Linked DNA regions of Homo sapiens: region 2 is linked to region 1. The links are contacts of gene promoters, found by promoter capture Hi-C in blood cells and fetal thymus (Javierre and others, 2016). All regions are on one chromosome and are shown on one strand. Each heading gives the region's core, a stretch centred on a gene start or on the middle of the fragment in contact. The rest is flanking DNA. Distances are from core to core; before and after follow the strand shown. Region 1 holds the start of LINC03102 (long intergenic non-protein coding RNA 3102). Region 2 overlaps SRSF11 (serine and arginine rich splicing factor 11).

What was found. The method cuts DNA at HindIII sites, captures the fragments that hold promoters and counts their contacts. A CHiCAGO score of 5 or more calls a contact.
Region 2: a fragment that was not itself captured here is called in contact with the fragment with the promoter of LINC03102 in region 1 in 1 of 17 cell types (naive CD8 T cells); the score reaches 5.4 in naive CD8 T cells.

The regions. Positions count from the first base shown.
Region 1 is chr1:70,357,007-70,364,875 of GRCh38, reverse strand. It overlaps LINC03102 (long intergenic non-protein coding RNA 3102), which reads left to right and starts at 4,439. Exons shown (of 2, transcript NR_183713.1): 1 at 4,439-4,579; 2 at 4,881-5,317. All of the region lies in intron 1 of ANKRD13C-DT (ANKRD13C divergent transcript), which reads right to left. RefSeq lists a silencer at 4,314-4,507 and an enhancer at 5,744-5,803. The HindIII fragment of the contact is 2,416 bases long and covers 3,500-5,915 here.
Region 2 is chr1:70,244,440-70,252,308 of GRCh38, reverse strand. It overlaps SRSF11 (serine and arginine rich splicing factor 11), which reads right to left. Exons shown (of 12, transcript NM_001350605.2): 8 at 7,494-7,625; 9 at 5,402-5,491; 10 at 2,262-2,357; 11 at 1,806-1,944; 12 at 1-1,701. The coding sequence ends at 1,504. Among named protein-coding and RNA genes, the nearest start is that of SRSF11, 27 kb to the right of the region's middle. The HindIII fragment of the contact is 418 bases long and covers 2,906-3,323 here.

The DNA.
Region 1 (7,869 bases), core at 3,190-5,689:
ATACCTCAAGTATTACAAATATCCCTGTCCTATTTGGGATACACTTATACTAAAAAGTTGTTGTATATTTGAACTTTAAATTTAACTGGGTGTCCTGTAATTTTATTTGATACATCTGGCAATCCAAGGGGTGAGTGATGTGAGGTTTTGTGTGTGCAAGCACAGGTGGGAAATGGGAGTCACAGATCAGTTAGGAGACAGTTTCAAGTGATAGTAGCCTGAACCCAAATATGGCTAGTGGTATAAACCAAAAATAAAATTCTAAGATCCCCCTTCCAACCGTCTATCTGAATGGACTTCCTCCTCATTCACGGCTCTTTTAAAATTTAACTGCAGAGACTGTTTCAGGTCCTGATGGGAAGTGGTGGTCGAACATGCCTCATTATACCTCTTCATCATTAACATCAGCACAGACTTTAAGTCTGATAAGAAACATTTTACATTCTCTTCTCTCTGAAGCCTATACTTGAAGGCTTCCTCTGCAAATAAGAACTCGGGTCTCCATCATCCTTTATCTTAAGCCAGACATTCCTTTCTGTTAATTCTAGGTCTTTAGACAAACTCAACCAATTATCAACCAGAAAATGTTTAAATATACCTATAAGCCGGGCGCAGTGACTCAGGCCTGTAATCCCAGCACTTTGGGAGGCCAAGGCAGGCGGATCACTTGAGGTCAGGAGTTCAAGAACAGCCTGGCCAATATGGTGAAACCCCGTCTCTACTGAAAATATAAAAATTAGCCAGGCATGGTGGCACACGCCTGTAGTCCCAGCTATTCGGGAGGCTGAGGCAGGAGAATTGCTTGAACCCAAGAAGCTGAGGTTGCAGTGAGCCGAGATACCATTGTACTCCAGCCTGGATGTCCCAGGGAGACTCGTCTCAAACAAAACAAAACAAAACAAAACAAAAACAAATAAATTTACCGATAGCCTGAAGTCTCCCTCACCACCTCAAGTTGTTCTGCCTTTCTGGACCAAACCAATGTATTTCTTAAATGTGTTTGGTTAATGTCTCGTGCCTCCCTAAAATGTATAAAACTAAGCTGCACCCGACTACCTGGGGCACATGTTCTCAGGACCTCCTGAGGGCTGTCCTCATATTTGATTCAGAAGAAATCTCTTCAAATATTTGACAGAGTTTGACTCTTCATCGGCAGTGGAAAAATCAAGAGAAAGAGTTCCATTTTAGAGCTCTGCAGTAGGTAGAAAGGTCAAGATTTTGTGACTGGCTGAATGTGGGGTTTATGGCTGTTAACAGTGGAGGGGGTCCAGGTTCTTGGCATCTTGAACAAAGAATTGGACAAAACGCACAAACAAAGCAAGGAAGAATGAAGGGTTTTATTGAAAATGAAAGTACACTCCACAGCGTGGGAGCAGCATAGGGGTTCAAAGGACCTGTTACAGATTTTTTGGGGAGTGTAAATACCCCCTAGAGGATTCCATTGGTTACTTGTGTTACACCCTATGTAAATGGAGAGGATGAAGTAAAATTACAAAGTTATTTACAGCATACATCTCATAGAGAGGATATTTCCTGTCATAGCTGAAGTGTGAATTGGCCTTGTGTTCCCTGCCTCCAGACCCTATTTTCCTGCCTCATGGCAAGGGAGGAGTCAAAGGTAATGAGAAGTGAAATATGGATTTGGTCAGTGAGATTGCTGATGGAGATGAGTTTCATTTTGGAAGTTTTGAGTTAGTTGTTCTTGAGGAATTTTTATTTTATTTTATTTTTGAGATGGAGTCTTGCTCTGTCACCCAGGCTGGAGGGCAGTGGCATGATCTCGGCTTACCGCAACCTCTGCCCCCAGGTAAAAGTGATTCTCCTGCCTCAGCCTTCCGAGTAGCTGGGATTACAAGCGCCTGCCACCACGCCCAGCTAATTTTTGTATTTTTAGGAGAGACTAAAAATACAATATGGGGTTTGGCCATGTTGGCCAGGCTGGTCTCGAACTCCTGACCACAGGTGATCCACCCGCCTCGGCCTCCCCAAGTGCTAGGATTATAGGCGTGAGCCACTGCGCCCAGCCCGGAGTATTTAGACTACAGATACAGATGTAGTTACATATATTCTGAGCAATAAAGTAATTTAAAATAAAACATATTCAGGAAGCTATGGACACATGTACTGACCCTTGTCTATCTATACCATTTAATCTCTTACACACTACCCATTGTGCCTTTTTTTTTTTTTTGAGACAGTCTTGCCCTGTCACCCAGGCTGGATCTCGGCTCACTGTAACCTCCGCTTGCCAGGTTCAAGCATTTCTCCTGCTCGGCCTCTGTAGTAACTGGGATTATAGGCATGTACCACCAAGCCTGGCTAATTTTTATATTTTTAGTAGAGATGGGTTTTCGTCATGTTGGCCAGTCTGGTCTCGAACTCCTGGCCCCAAGTGATCCGCCTGCCTCGGTCTTCCAAAGTGTTGGGCCTACCCATTGTGTCTTAACCTCTTCTTTCACTAAAAAACCCATTCCTGTCTCTGTTCTAATTCTCTTGTTTCTAGCCTTTGTCGATCTAAAAATAATTTTAATTATGAATGTTTCACTTTATCTTTTCCTTTTCATCTCATTGACTCAGCCTTTCACTGTGCTCCTGGCATTTTTTCTCCTTCTTCCTCCAAATCAGTCTGTAGGTTTTATCTGTCTCAAAGGAATTTCTTCCTTCAGGAACTTCCAGCTGTTATTGGCTCTGGTTTCCTTGGCAACCCCTGCTTCTCAGATTTTTTTTCTGATTACTTAAGAGAAATTTTACAAAATCACTGATAACCACTGATCAGAAACCGTAGAAGAAAGGGAAAGTGCTCTGCATTGCCTCTGAGAAAGGAAGGGGGCAGATTTAGAGGAAAGAGAAAAATACTGAGACCCAGGGAGATGGAAGTAAAATGTGTGAATTAAGTATTGATTTACATGGTTTGTTATTTTCATCTGTCAGTGTACTGCTGTGTCGTCAGATTTCAGAGACAATTACCTCATTAGTTAGATAGCCCTATCATCTATCAAACAAAATACTCCTAGATCTTGTTCAACCATTGTGGAATGTAGGAAATCATATTCCAGATTATTGTGAGAATATAAAACACAAATCTTCAGAGAAGATGAAAGAAAAAAGATGTAGACTAAACTTGCACTAATATTTACATTAGAAACATTATTAGTATGCAATGCAATGAGAATTGAGTAAGGTTAGTAACTACAGATCCTAATTGGAAGTCTGTTGATATATTTAAAAAATATAACGAGTGAGATTTTATTTTGTACAGTACTGCTGTTCTGTATTTCATGTTACCATACTACTGCTTTTGTTAAATGAAGACACCAGGACAGGGATTAGGTGCTTTGTGTAGGGCTAATAGAGATACATAAATTTCTGGCAAAATTCACAACGTTCTTTCTTAGAGACAGATTTAACTGTCTAGTCAGTGTTTGGTGTTGGTGAGCACATAACTATCTAACAAAACTCTCATTAGAAAAAGTTGAAAAACATTCATTTTTCAGAAGCTTTTTGCTATTCAAGGCAAATTGAGCATTATTGAGTTAACTACACCAGGAGAGAAATTAATTTGCTAATTTGTAGAACTACAGAGTATTACCTAGCAAATTCAGTAGTTTAGTTCTCAGGGTTTTTTTTTTTTTCCTTTTGGCATGGAGTCTAGCTCTGTTGCCCAGGCAGGAGTGCAATGGCACAATCTCGGCTCACTGCAACCTCTGCCTCCCAGGTTCAAGCGATTCTCCTGCCTCAGCCTCCCAGGTAGCTTGGATTATAGGGGTCCACCACCACGTCCGGCTAATTTTTGTATTTTTAGTAGAGACGGGGTTTCGCCATGTTGGCCAGGCTGGTCTCGAACTCCTGGCCTCAGGTGATCCACCCGCCTCAGCCTCCCAAAGTGCTGGGATTACAGGCGTGAGCCACTGCGCCTGGCCAGTAGTTTAGTTCTATACTTGAATTGATGGATTGCATTCTATCTTGTAAAATTTGAATAAAAAGTAAATACAGTGTTTACCAGTGAAGTTATTTACTCATTACATATTGATATAATTGATAATCACTACATATTTTATCATATTGAATTCAAGACACTGTGATAACAGATTTTTTTGAAGCAAAATCCTGTTTTAAGTCTTTGGATATAGTACTTTTGCTGACCACTCTTGCATTTGTCTCTCCAACATTATTCCCCACCTCATTCCCATTATGAAACAGTTCACTGTTTGGAGAGCTGGGCCCCACCTCCGGCTCCGAGATCAATCCTGATTGGGTGAAACTAATCTGAGTAACCCCTCCTTCACAGGGGTTTGTCAGATAACCCAGGCTTGAGCCAATCACCGTTCTCTGGGACACAGATTGGACTGAGTTATCTTGTAACTGTCATACTCCAGATTTATGTGGGAGCAGGAACTCCTTTGGACCTTAAGGAGGAAGCACGTGGCTGCTTTTACCTGCTGGCAGTTATCTTGTGTTCTTGAAGGAAGCAGGCCTGAGGAGGACTCCTCATACAGAGAGAAACACCGAGAGATTCACTGAAAAACTGACATGGGATCCTGAGGGGCCACTCTTGAAGACTTATCTCTGCACCTTTCTGGTATGTAAGTCAATACATTCCTTTAATTTAACCCTGTTTCAATTGAATTTATTGTTACTTCTACATGAAAAACAAAAAGTCCTAAATGATATATCTACTCTTTGGCTTCATGTAAGAATTCAAGAGTGTAGCAGCTAATTTCAGTGTAGTTATATTGGGATTATTTAAGAAGTTTATTTAGCATCTCATTACTGAGTCTGCAGTTGTCTTAGTACCTTGTAGATACTTGGGGTTTTGTGTTCTAATAGACTGATTAATTCAACAACTGCTTATTATTAATATAAGCATTCACTCCCTGTAGGGCACTGTGCATACAGCAATGATCAGCATGATTCCAGTGCTCAGAGAGCTCCAAGGATTAGTTGAGACCAGACAAGAATATCAAGGAGGCATGCAGAAGTTACAATGGGAAATCAAAAAGAAGACAAAGGAGGGACACCTAATTCAGAACGATGGGTTTGTTGGATAGGAGAGAAAAGGAGACGAATGGGCAGGTATCATCAAAGATTCCTAAGAAGAAGTTCCTAACTTCTGTTTTTGTGCCATTGACTCTTTGGCAGTGTGGAGAAACCCAGGGACCCATTTTCAGAACAGTGTTTTTAAATGCATAAAATATTTTGGATTAAAAGGAAACTCTGAGTATTGAAATACCTAACAAAATATTTTAAAAGCAAATTTGTAATACAGTAATGTATATGCTTCTTTATTAACTAATTAAAGAACAAGATATAGCAATGAGCATACCTATTAAGATAATTTTAGAGGTACTAATGACTATAAATGAAATTTTGAGTTGTCTGCAGCAACTGTTATGTGAAATGAAAATACCTGTGGTTTTTTTGGTTGTGAAGTCACAGGTACTACTAATGCTAATACTATTGTGGTTTGTGGCATACGTTCATAATAGAATGACATGCTAAATTTTATTTGGAAAGTTAGTTCAACACAATTTCCTGGCTCTGAATTCTATGCCAAGTTAAAAAAAAATTTGTGCTAAGAAGGGATAAAATTTGATGTAATTCTTTTATTTATTTATTTATTTTTTTAGACAGAGTCTCGCTCTATCGCCCAGGCTGGTGTGCAGTGGTGCAATCTCACTGCAACCTTTGCCTCCTGGGTTCAAGCCATTCTCCTGCCTCAGCCTCCCGAGCAGCTGGGACTACAAGCAGACGTCACCATGCCTGGCTGATTCTTTTTGTATTTTTCAGTAGAAATGGGGTTTCACCATGTTGGTCAGGCTGATCTTGAACTCCTGACCTCAAGTGACTTGCCCACCTCGGCCTTCCAAAGTGCTGGGATTACAGGCATGAGCTACCACGCCCAGCCCCAGAAAGCTTTTCTGATCATCCAATTTCTATTTTCCCCAAATAGAATTAATGACTTCCTTTTCTATATTGTATTGGGAGCTTATATAATTTCAATCCTTGTATTTTTCATAATGTATTACAATCATATTTCTATCTTTTTTATAATATATTGTAATCTTACATTTCTGTCATTTTTACAAGCCCTTAAAAATAATGGATGGGGCCAAGTGCAGTGGCTCACACCTGTCATCTCAGCACTTTGGGAGGCTGAGGTGGAAGGATCACCTGGGCCCAGGAGTTCAAGACCAGCCTGACCAACATAGTGAGACACGGCCTCTATAAAAAATAATAATAATAATGAATGGGCTGGGGGCAGTAGCTCACACCTGTAATCCCAACACTTCAGGAAGCCGAGGTGGGTAGATGGCTTGAGTCCAGGAGTTTGAGACTAGCCTGGGTGACATGGCCAAACCCAGTCTCTACAAAAAAATACAAAAATTAGCTGGGCCCTGTAGTCCCAGCACTTGGGAGGCTGAGGCGGGAGGATCCACTTGAGCATGGGAGGTGGAAGTTGCAGTGAGCTGAGATCATGCCACTGCACTCCAGCCTAGCTGACAAAATGAGACTCAAAAAACAACAAAAAATAAGTCTTGGTGTGGTGGCTCATGCCTGTAATCCCAGCACTTTGGGAGGCCGAGGTGGGCGGATCACCTGAGGTCAGAAGTTCGAGACTCAGCCTGGCCAACATGGTGAAACCCCATCTCTATTAAAAATACAAAAATTAGCTTGGCATGGTGGTGGAGACCTGTAATGCCAACTACTTGGGAGGCTGAGGCAGGAGAATTGCTTGAACCCAGGAGGCGGAGGTTGCAGTGAGCTGAGACCACACCATTGCATTCCAGCATGGGCAACGGGAACAAAACTCTGTCTCAAAAATAAAATAAAATAAAAAATAAAAAAGGATGATATTTATTTATTTATTTATTTATTTTTAAAGACAGGATACCTGTCACTTAGGCTGGTGTGCAGTAGTGCAATCCTAGTTCACTGCAGCCTTGGACTCCCAGGCTCAAGTGGATCTCCCACCCCAGCCTCTTGAGTAGCTGGGACTGCAGGTGTTTAGCACCACAGGTGGCTAATATTTTATATTTTTTGATAGAGATGGGGTTTCACTATGTTGCCCAGGCTGGTTTCAAACCCCTGACCTCAAGTGATCCTCCTGCTTTGGCCTTTCAAAGTGTTGGGATTACAGGTATGAGCTACCACACCTGGCCTGAATATTATTTTTGATATGTATGGTGTTTGATTTTACTGGAGGGATACTTATGAGTTTCCACATTCCATGGGTGACATCCATGGGTGACAGCCACTAATAAAGAAATTTCAAATTCAGACTCTAGTGATAGAATACTTCACAAGTATAACGGGATATTATTTGGTGTAGGTTTTTAGTAATAGGATGCTGGCCACTTACCCTATACACACGCTTTGAATATTGGTGTTTTCAAGATTTTGTTCTATATGGACCTTCTTAATTTCTCATTCTATAAACTTTTCTTTGGGGAACTCACCCACTTCTGGAGCATTAATTACTGTGTAATGATAACTTCTGAATCCAGCCCATACCTAGTTCTCTGTTACCTAAGGATCACTTGCAAATATCTAAAATGTAGAACATCTAACTCCCTACAGATAAGCAACTTTCAACTCAATATGCTAAGATTGAACTCATTTTTAAAAACCTCTTAAACCTTTTTCTGCCTCACTCTTACTAACTTGGTTCATGCTCTCATCATCTGATTTACTGCATACTTCTTTAAAGTTCTGTTCTTGATGCATACTTCTCTAAAGTATGAGTGACTGAATTTTCTTTTTTTTAATTTTTTTTTTTTTTTGAGACCAAGTTTTGCTCTTGTCACCCAGGCTGGAGTGCAATTACACGATCTTGGCTCACTGCAACCTCCACCTCCCAGGTTCAACCGA
Region 2 (7,869 bases), core at 1,865-4,364, 110 kb after region 1:
AAATATAAATTTGCTAGATATAGGTGGGATTTGTTTATACTAAAGTTCATTGCTTTATCCAACCCCATTCCCACACAAAAAATAAGCAATAAAATGATACTAAGCTAAGAAAAGGACTATTTTGGATAGAAATTAAATCATTTTTGACAATTTTGATGGCAATTATCACTACAGTGATAGACTTCCTCTTTTTACTATACTGAAATATGTGGACAGAAAGGGAAAGAATTTGTAAAATGAATGAGGTAAATGTCATACATTCAGTAGCGTAAATAAATACAAATACGGTTTTACAGGAACATGAACATAAGTTTAAGGGTTTTATTATCAAAGTCTTGTAAAACAATTTCAGAAACTGTACATCAACATGGCACAGACTGTAGCCTACTTTTGTTTCTACTGCACAAAAGTGAAGCTTGAAACTTCTGTAACTAAGAAAACAGTTGCCTACTTTGCATATATAACATGAAATCACCGTGTGCATAAGATTACTACTGCAGTAACACAAATTTATTGGTTTTATACAACTTGAGATCAAATAAAGGTACATTATCAAGTAGATTTGTCTTATTTTAAAAGCGTATGAAGGTCAATTTAAAATGCACTACCCCTTTTTTCCAACACGGAGCTTAAAACAAATTAATGAAAGAGTGGAAAATTCAAAATAAGGGCAAGAGATAAGGTTTTTTTCTTTTTTTCCTTTAAGATAGACTCAGGATAGGTAGATAGCTTTCACTGATGTAGATGTGGAATAAATTATTACTTCAGGAAAAAAATTCCCAAACATCTTATGAAAAAGTATACAACTCTACTTCAAAATATGCTATTTACTCACTGCCAAAGACAGTTTTATTTGAAATCTTGTTTCTGTATTTAAACCCTAATTAGCCACCAAAAAAGGTTAGTGCATAATAACCTTTCAAAGTTAAACAAAAGCCACAAAAATTTTGCCACAAGGCTTAAAGGATTATCTATTTCAAATGCTCATTTCCAGATGTAACTATAAGAATGTTAATTTGTCATGTCAACAAACAAGACCATAAGTAGATCCATCATGTTGGAGGATTTTAATGACATTTAGGATATTCTTGCCACAATAACATGCAATCAGTGCATTTCCTACATGGCTCTATTACGGCAATGAATCAAATTATAGAAATACTATAAGTGAACTTACTTAATAAAGGATATCATACGACATAAACAATCCATGCCTGCTGTAGATGCATGCAGCTTTTCATTTTTGTTATGAAGCAGCACCAGAATAGTAAAACTGCTTGGTTACTCAATCAGATTTCACCATGACAAGAATTGGTTACCTCGTACCATTTTCTAAAAGCTTTTTGATGTAAATAACTAATATGAGTAACAGGAGCTTTATAACCATTTATAACTCAGAGCTGTATACATCTAGGTTTGAGATGAACAAATACAGCATTAAGAAATCACACAAAGGAATGACACTGATGCAGGTATACAGTTGGACTCCCTCAGAGGCAATATTCAGTCACTCATATCCATGTCTTCTTCATGATGATCATCCCCATTCACTTTGGATTCTCTTAGTGAATCACCAGTTCCCTTTTCCACAGAACATTCCTTTGTTTTAGGGGAACCTGTTTCTATTGGTTTCTTCTCTTCTTTTTTCTCTTTCTCACTGTCATACCCCTGTTCCTCTTCATCATAATCCCGTGTAACCTGCTTTGCCAAGGAGAATAATAAAAGTAAACTTCTCCAAAGAAAAATAACTTCTGAAAGTACCAACATCACCCCAAATATAAAAATAAATCAATTTGTAAACATACTTTTACATCTTTATCACTCTCTGATTTTCTTTCCCGGTCCTTTTCCTTATCTTTACTCTTCTTCTTCTTGCTTGTTGATCGTTCTCTTTCATCCCTACTTCTTTCTTTGTCTTTATCTTTCTTCTTCTCCTTTTTATGTCTAGAATGACAGTAAAATGTACAGCAACAGGTTTAACTTGTTTAGATGATGAGCCTGACTCAATTTCACAGGATATAAGTAGTACAGCAAAGATCCAACTTCAAAACCTTGGAGAAGTAACACAGGCTACAAAACTAACTTGTTTATAGGACTAAAATGTTCAGTCCTTAATGGTGTTTAAGTCACAAGTCAGAAGGAGAATACATTAAAACATTCTTAAGAACTGTAACTGCTGAAAAGAAAAACTACAGGACAGTTTTAAAATGAAAAACCTCTGAAAAATATAAAAAATACATTTAAATGATTAACATTCTTACCTCCTAGGGGATGGTGAGCGGGACAATTTTCTTTTAGGAGACCGAGGCTTTTTAGGAGATCTTGTGCCACTCCTGCTTCTTCGTCGTCGTCTCTCTCTAGAATCACAAATGTGCAAACTAGGTTTTAAAATACAGTGTGATCTTAAAAATGCAGACACATCATAGATGATTCTAACAATGAAAGATGTGGCCAGATGTAGTGGCTCATGCCTATAATCCCAGCACTTTGGCAGGCTGAGGTGAGGGGATTGCTTGAGCCCAGGAGTTCCAGACCAGCCTGGGCAACATGGTGAAACTCTGTCTCTACAAAAAATACAAAAAAATTAGCCAGGTGTGGTGGTGCATGCCTGTAGTCCCAGCTACTCAGGAGGCAGAGGCAGGAAGATCACTTGAGCCTGCGGAGGTTGAAGCTGGAGTGAGTTGTGATAGGGCCACTGCACTCCAGCCTGGGCAACAGAGAGAGACCCTGTCTCAAAAAAACAGAAAAATGAAAGATTGTTTCACAATACTGGTATAAGCTAAACAATTAAATGAGTAATATAATCATCTGCAAACCATGAATCTTTCCCTTTACTACCCTCAAGAAAACTCCTAATTTCTAGTAATTCTTTTAATTGATGACAAAATGTTAGAAATACTAAGCTTGAGAAAAAACTGATTTAACAAAACTAATGCGAGAGGGGTGACGTGTGAAGTAAACTATTACTGAAGAAGTTAGTTTTTGGTTCAAACATTCAGTGTTCAGAGTAAGTACAGAATAATTCAATAATGTGATATAGAAGGTAGTTACTAATAAAATATCCCCACATTCACCTTTAAATCATTAGATGAAATTCAGAGAACTAGTTAGTGGAAAGGTAGAAACCTTATACTCTAGCAAAATCGCCCTCCTGCAGTCCCCCAAAACCCTGCTTTCACCAATTACTTTGAAGATATACAGCTGATATACAGCCTTCCCCTCCTTTTTACTGTAACTTAAAAAAAAAAATTCTGTTCCTGATTCTCAAAAGTTATCAGACTTAAAAAACCCTGTACTTAGTTGTCTAATTTCCAAATGAAGCTTTTTTTCTACTTACACAGCCCTCTGTGACCCTTGTCCTGGAAACGTTACACATAACTGAGCATTCACTTATCAAACATTGTCACGACTGTGCACCTTATACTTTTTGCTACTGTCTTATGTAACTGAAACTCCAAATTCTCTAGACGGAAGAAGTATTTTATATTACATTTCCGTGTCCTTCAACAGACTGTAGCACAACTACAAACACAGTGGGTATTTAATAACTCACAGAAGATGCCTTAATTTAGAGTGATCCAATAATACAGCATGAGAAGGCACTTACAAGTACATTATATAAAGCAACAGGTAAAAAAAAAAATCCTCAACAGTTTTTAAGGTAAGAAAATATATGTAGTACCTTCCATCTTTTCTATCTCTTTGCCACCTATCCCTCAGGCCTGATTCAGCATTTCCTTCTGTACTTACATTTGGTTTCATTTTCATGCTTAAAAATTTAGTTTTTAAGAAAATTTTCACCACCCCAAAAACTCCCTACCCTTTAGTTATCACTCTAATCCTCCCTATCTCCCCAGCAATCAGTAATCTACTTGGTATCTTTATAGATTTGCCTATTCTGGGCATTTCATATAAAAGGAATCACGCAATACACGGCCTTTCATGGATGTTTGCAAGTTTCATCCATACTGTAGCATGTATCAACCTTATTTATCACTGAAAAATATTCAATTGTATAGATATACCATTCTGTTTATCCATTTGTTAATGGATAGTTAACTTTTTGGCTATTATGAAATAATGCCACAAACATTCACATAAAAGTTTTTCTGTGAAAATGTTTTCATTTTCCCCCAGGGGTACAACTGGTGGGTCAAAAACCTCTATGTTTAACATTTTTAGGAAATGCCAGACTGTTTTCTAAAACACCTGTACCAGTTTATATTCATACTAGCAATGCACAGGGTTCTAATTTCTCCACATCCTAATCAACACTTACTATCATCTGTCAGGCTCAGCTATCATCTGTCTTTTTGATTTATAACCATCCTAGTGACTGTGACATATCTCACTGTGGTCTGGTTTGTATTTCCTTGGTGACTAATGATGTTGAACAGATTTTATGTACTTACTAGATATTTGCATATCTCCTTTGGAGTAATGGCTACAGATTCTTTGCCATTTTTAAATTGGGTTGCCTGTCTATTGCTGAGTTCTAAGAGTTCTTAATAGAGAATATATAAAGAATTTTCTAACTAGCACTCTAGGTTTTTACTTTCTTGATAGTATCCTTTGAAATACAAATGTTTTAACTTTTGGTGAATTCCAAAATTTTCTTTTCTTCTGTTGCTTATGCTTTTGAAGTCATATCTAGGAAACCACCAAGCTCATGGTCTTAAAGATTCACTTTTGTTTCTTTCTAAAGGTTTTATAGTTTTGGCTCTTACATTTAGGTCTTTTATACATTTCAGTTATTTTTTTTTATATGGCATGAACCTTCTCCTAGTGAATTTAAGTAATGTTGATGAATAAAACAAGCACTGCAGCAAAACATGTGAATGAGATCTGAAAAATGGAATGAAGTCCAGCCCTTACTATCATATAAATCCCAAATTAAGTATGAAAATGTGCTTTTTGTGCAGTAAGGTCTGCAACATTTCAATTTTCACTGACAGCTTAAAGATAGAATTAGTCTAAGAATGACACAAACCAGAACCTGCATTGCTTCCCATTAATTCAACAGTCATTAAAAGGGATAGAAAAATTCTCAAGTACTAACATGCAGATGATAAATATAGCTTACTATAATAAGCTTACTTAATGGAACAATTCAGTATGGTTTAGCCATTAAAACTTAAACTATAAAGAGAAAAACTCACCTCTCTTGAATTCCATGTTACTTCAAATATACTCTAGACCATAAAATATTAAGTAAAAAGAAAAATAAACTACATTATTCTTCACAAATTGCCTTTTAAAAACTTTAAATAACAGCAAAATGTAACTTTTTTCAACACTGAAATACTTATGTTCTGGAAAAGACTTCATACTGACAGCGTACTGATACTGTTAGAAGCAAAGTTAAAAAAATAATTGCCAAGAATTCACAATGCCACCTTACCTGCTTGCACTTCTAGAACGTCTGGCTGTGCTGTAACTTTTTGGTGGTGTTTTAGAACGTTTCTTTTCTTTGTCTTCTTTCTTTTTGTCTCTAACAAATGAACACAATTTATGAATGCATTAGAAGACTCAGCTGATGCCAATTTATATAGCACTACAAACACAAAAATATAATCAGATCTAATCCCATCCTTAAAAGCATAAATGTTGTTCTGACAGAAACTGTTTTAAAAATAATACTTTATGTGGCATATTTGAAGTACAATAACTTCTTTTAAAATCCTATTATCCTAGGTTTTCTCCCAAGTAGACTAAAGTAGACTATGGGTGAGAAAATAACTAGGATGTTGGCTTGAAATATACTTGGTAAACACCAATAAGTTAACTATCTCTAGGCTCCTCAAGACTCCTTTTTCTCTCAGCTGATTACCACTTTCCCAACCCACCTCTCCTATCAGGCCAAAACCCATAGAGCACTACCAAAATCCATCAATATCATGAATATTCTTCCAAGACACACATCCCATGTCAACCTCTATCATGGATCAAGCAAGCTTCTTTTTCTGCGGCTATTATGAACTATTCAGGGCTTATTAGAAAATATCAACAGATTTTGACTACAGCCGTAACTCAATTTTTTTTTTTTACAGATTCCTATAAATTTTTACTCCTCACAATATTTTTTCCCCAAGATCATCATTCTCCCCAAGACTCTAAGCAAAGAGTAGATAAACGATATATATTTGTTGAATGAGAAGTCTCATAACAACCCCCCTCTTTAACTATTCTCTAATTTTAAGAATCAAAGTATCCCTCTCTTACTGTTCTAAGCTAATCTTTCCATTCTGCATTCTCAATTTCATTTTTTTCCCTTCTCTGGTCATCCTCGGTTCCCTCTTCATTCAATCTTTATCATTGGTTCCCTCTTCATTTGAATCTTTATCATCTAACTCCTAGATTACTAGAACAGTCCCCTAGTAGGTCCCAGTCATGCCTTCCATAAACTGATTCTGTACTCTGTCAGAAATCTTTTAAAGTACAAACCTGAAAATATTAATTCCCTGTTCACCATTTTCAACTCATTCCAGTTGCCTCCTGGATCAAGTGCATAGTGTGAACAACAAAGCCTTCCACGATCGGTCTCATTATATTTTTCTGACCTCATTTTCTAGTCCAACTACATCAAAATATTGTTATTTCAAGAAACACCATTCTCCACCTGAAAGCATGCCTCCCGTTGAGTCTAGTCAAATCTTTCAGAATTTAATACTCGAGTCATTCTCAAACCTCTTCCAATATCAGCAAGTAGCAATCATCATTTAACAGTTCCTCCCCTGTAATTAAATCCATCACTCTTCTCCTAGTAATCAGAAAGTCCTTAAAGAAATGCTTAATTCCTTTGTATAACTGTTCTATTAATCTACCTTGTTTGATTCACTCTGCAGCACATAAGGACTAAAAGCCCCATTATTACAGGTTTAACAATGATAGTAAAGCTACCCCCACTCTTCTGTTCTCATCAGTTGAGTTTTATGCTTCCCAAGAGTAAGTTATGTTGTGTCCCCAGCTGTACTTACTTTAATGACATGATTTAACTAAATATATAAATGAACAAAATAATGCCAAATATAGAGTTGCTTCTAGAAAATTAAGATAAATATTTTAGCAAGAGATAAAAAGCAGTTGCTAAAAAAATTAAGTGCTGTGAAATTGTATGCCTCACAACTATAAATGACTGGGGGCATACTAATTTAAAAGTGTTTGGTTCTACACGAAAAGACTGGTTTTTGAATATATTTTTAGATGGAAATAAAACGTTACGGTATTTCTTATGAAAGAAGGTAGCAGGACAGCTAACAATTCCTACTACTAAGAAATTTTACTTAGGCCCTCAGCTGTAAGCTGAAGTTTCAGTTTACAAGGAAGCACCAGAAAGCAAACGTCAGCCTCCTCAAACTCAAATATTGACAGTTTCTTCCCCTGTCTAGCCCTATTTCTCTGCCCCGCACCCCAACCACCTCTTTTGTTACTAAGTAGCACAGTACTAGGGGTACTGGGAACCCTAAAATTTGCTTTCTCACCCAATGCTATACCTTGTTTTTGATGTGCTCCTTGACCTTCTACCTCTTTCTCTGGAATGAGATCTTCTCCGCCTTGGGCTTTTGGATCGTCGCCGACTCCTAGACTTAGAATGTGACCGCCGTCTCGATCTGCTTCTTGACCGCCTAATAGTGTAAAAGGAAGCCAATACATGTGTATAAATGTAAAAAGACTATAAATTTTGTGCTTAGTATCAGACAAAAGATTCGGACATATGGACTAAACAATTAAATGGGGGATAATTCCCTTCCATTTGCTATTATTTAGCCCATAGAACAAACACCTTCAACACCTTAGAAATTAGTAATACCTTTTAACACTTGGAATTCCTCACCTTTTAATGATTTGCTCAACCTGTCAGATAGGTCC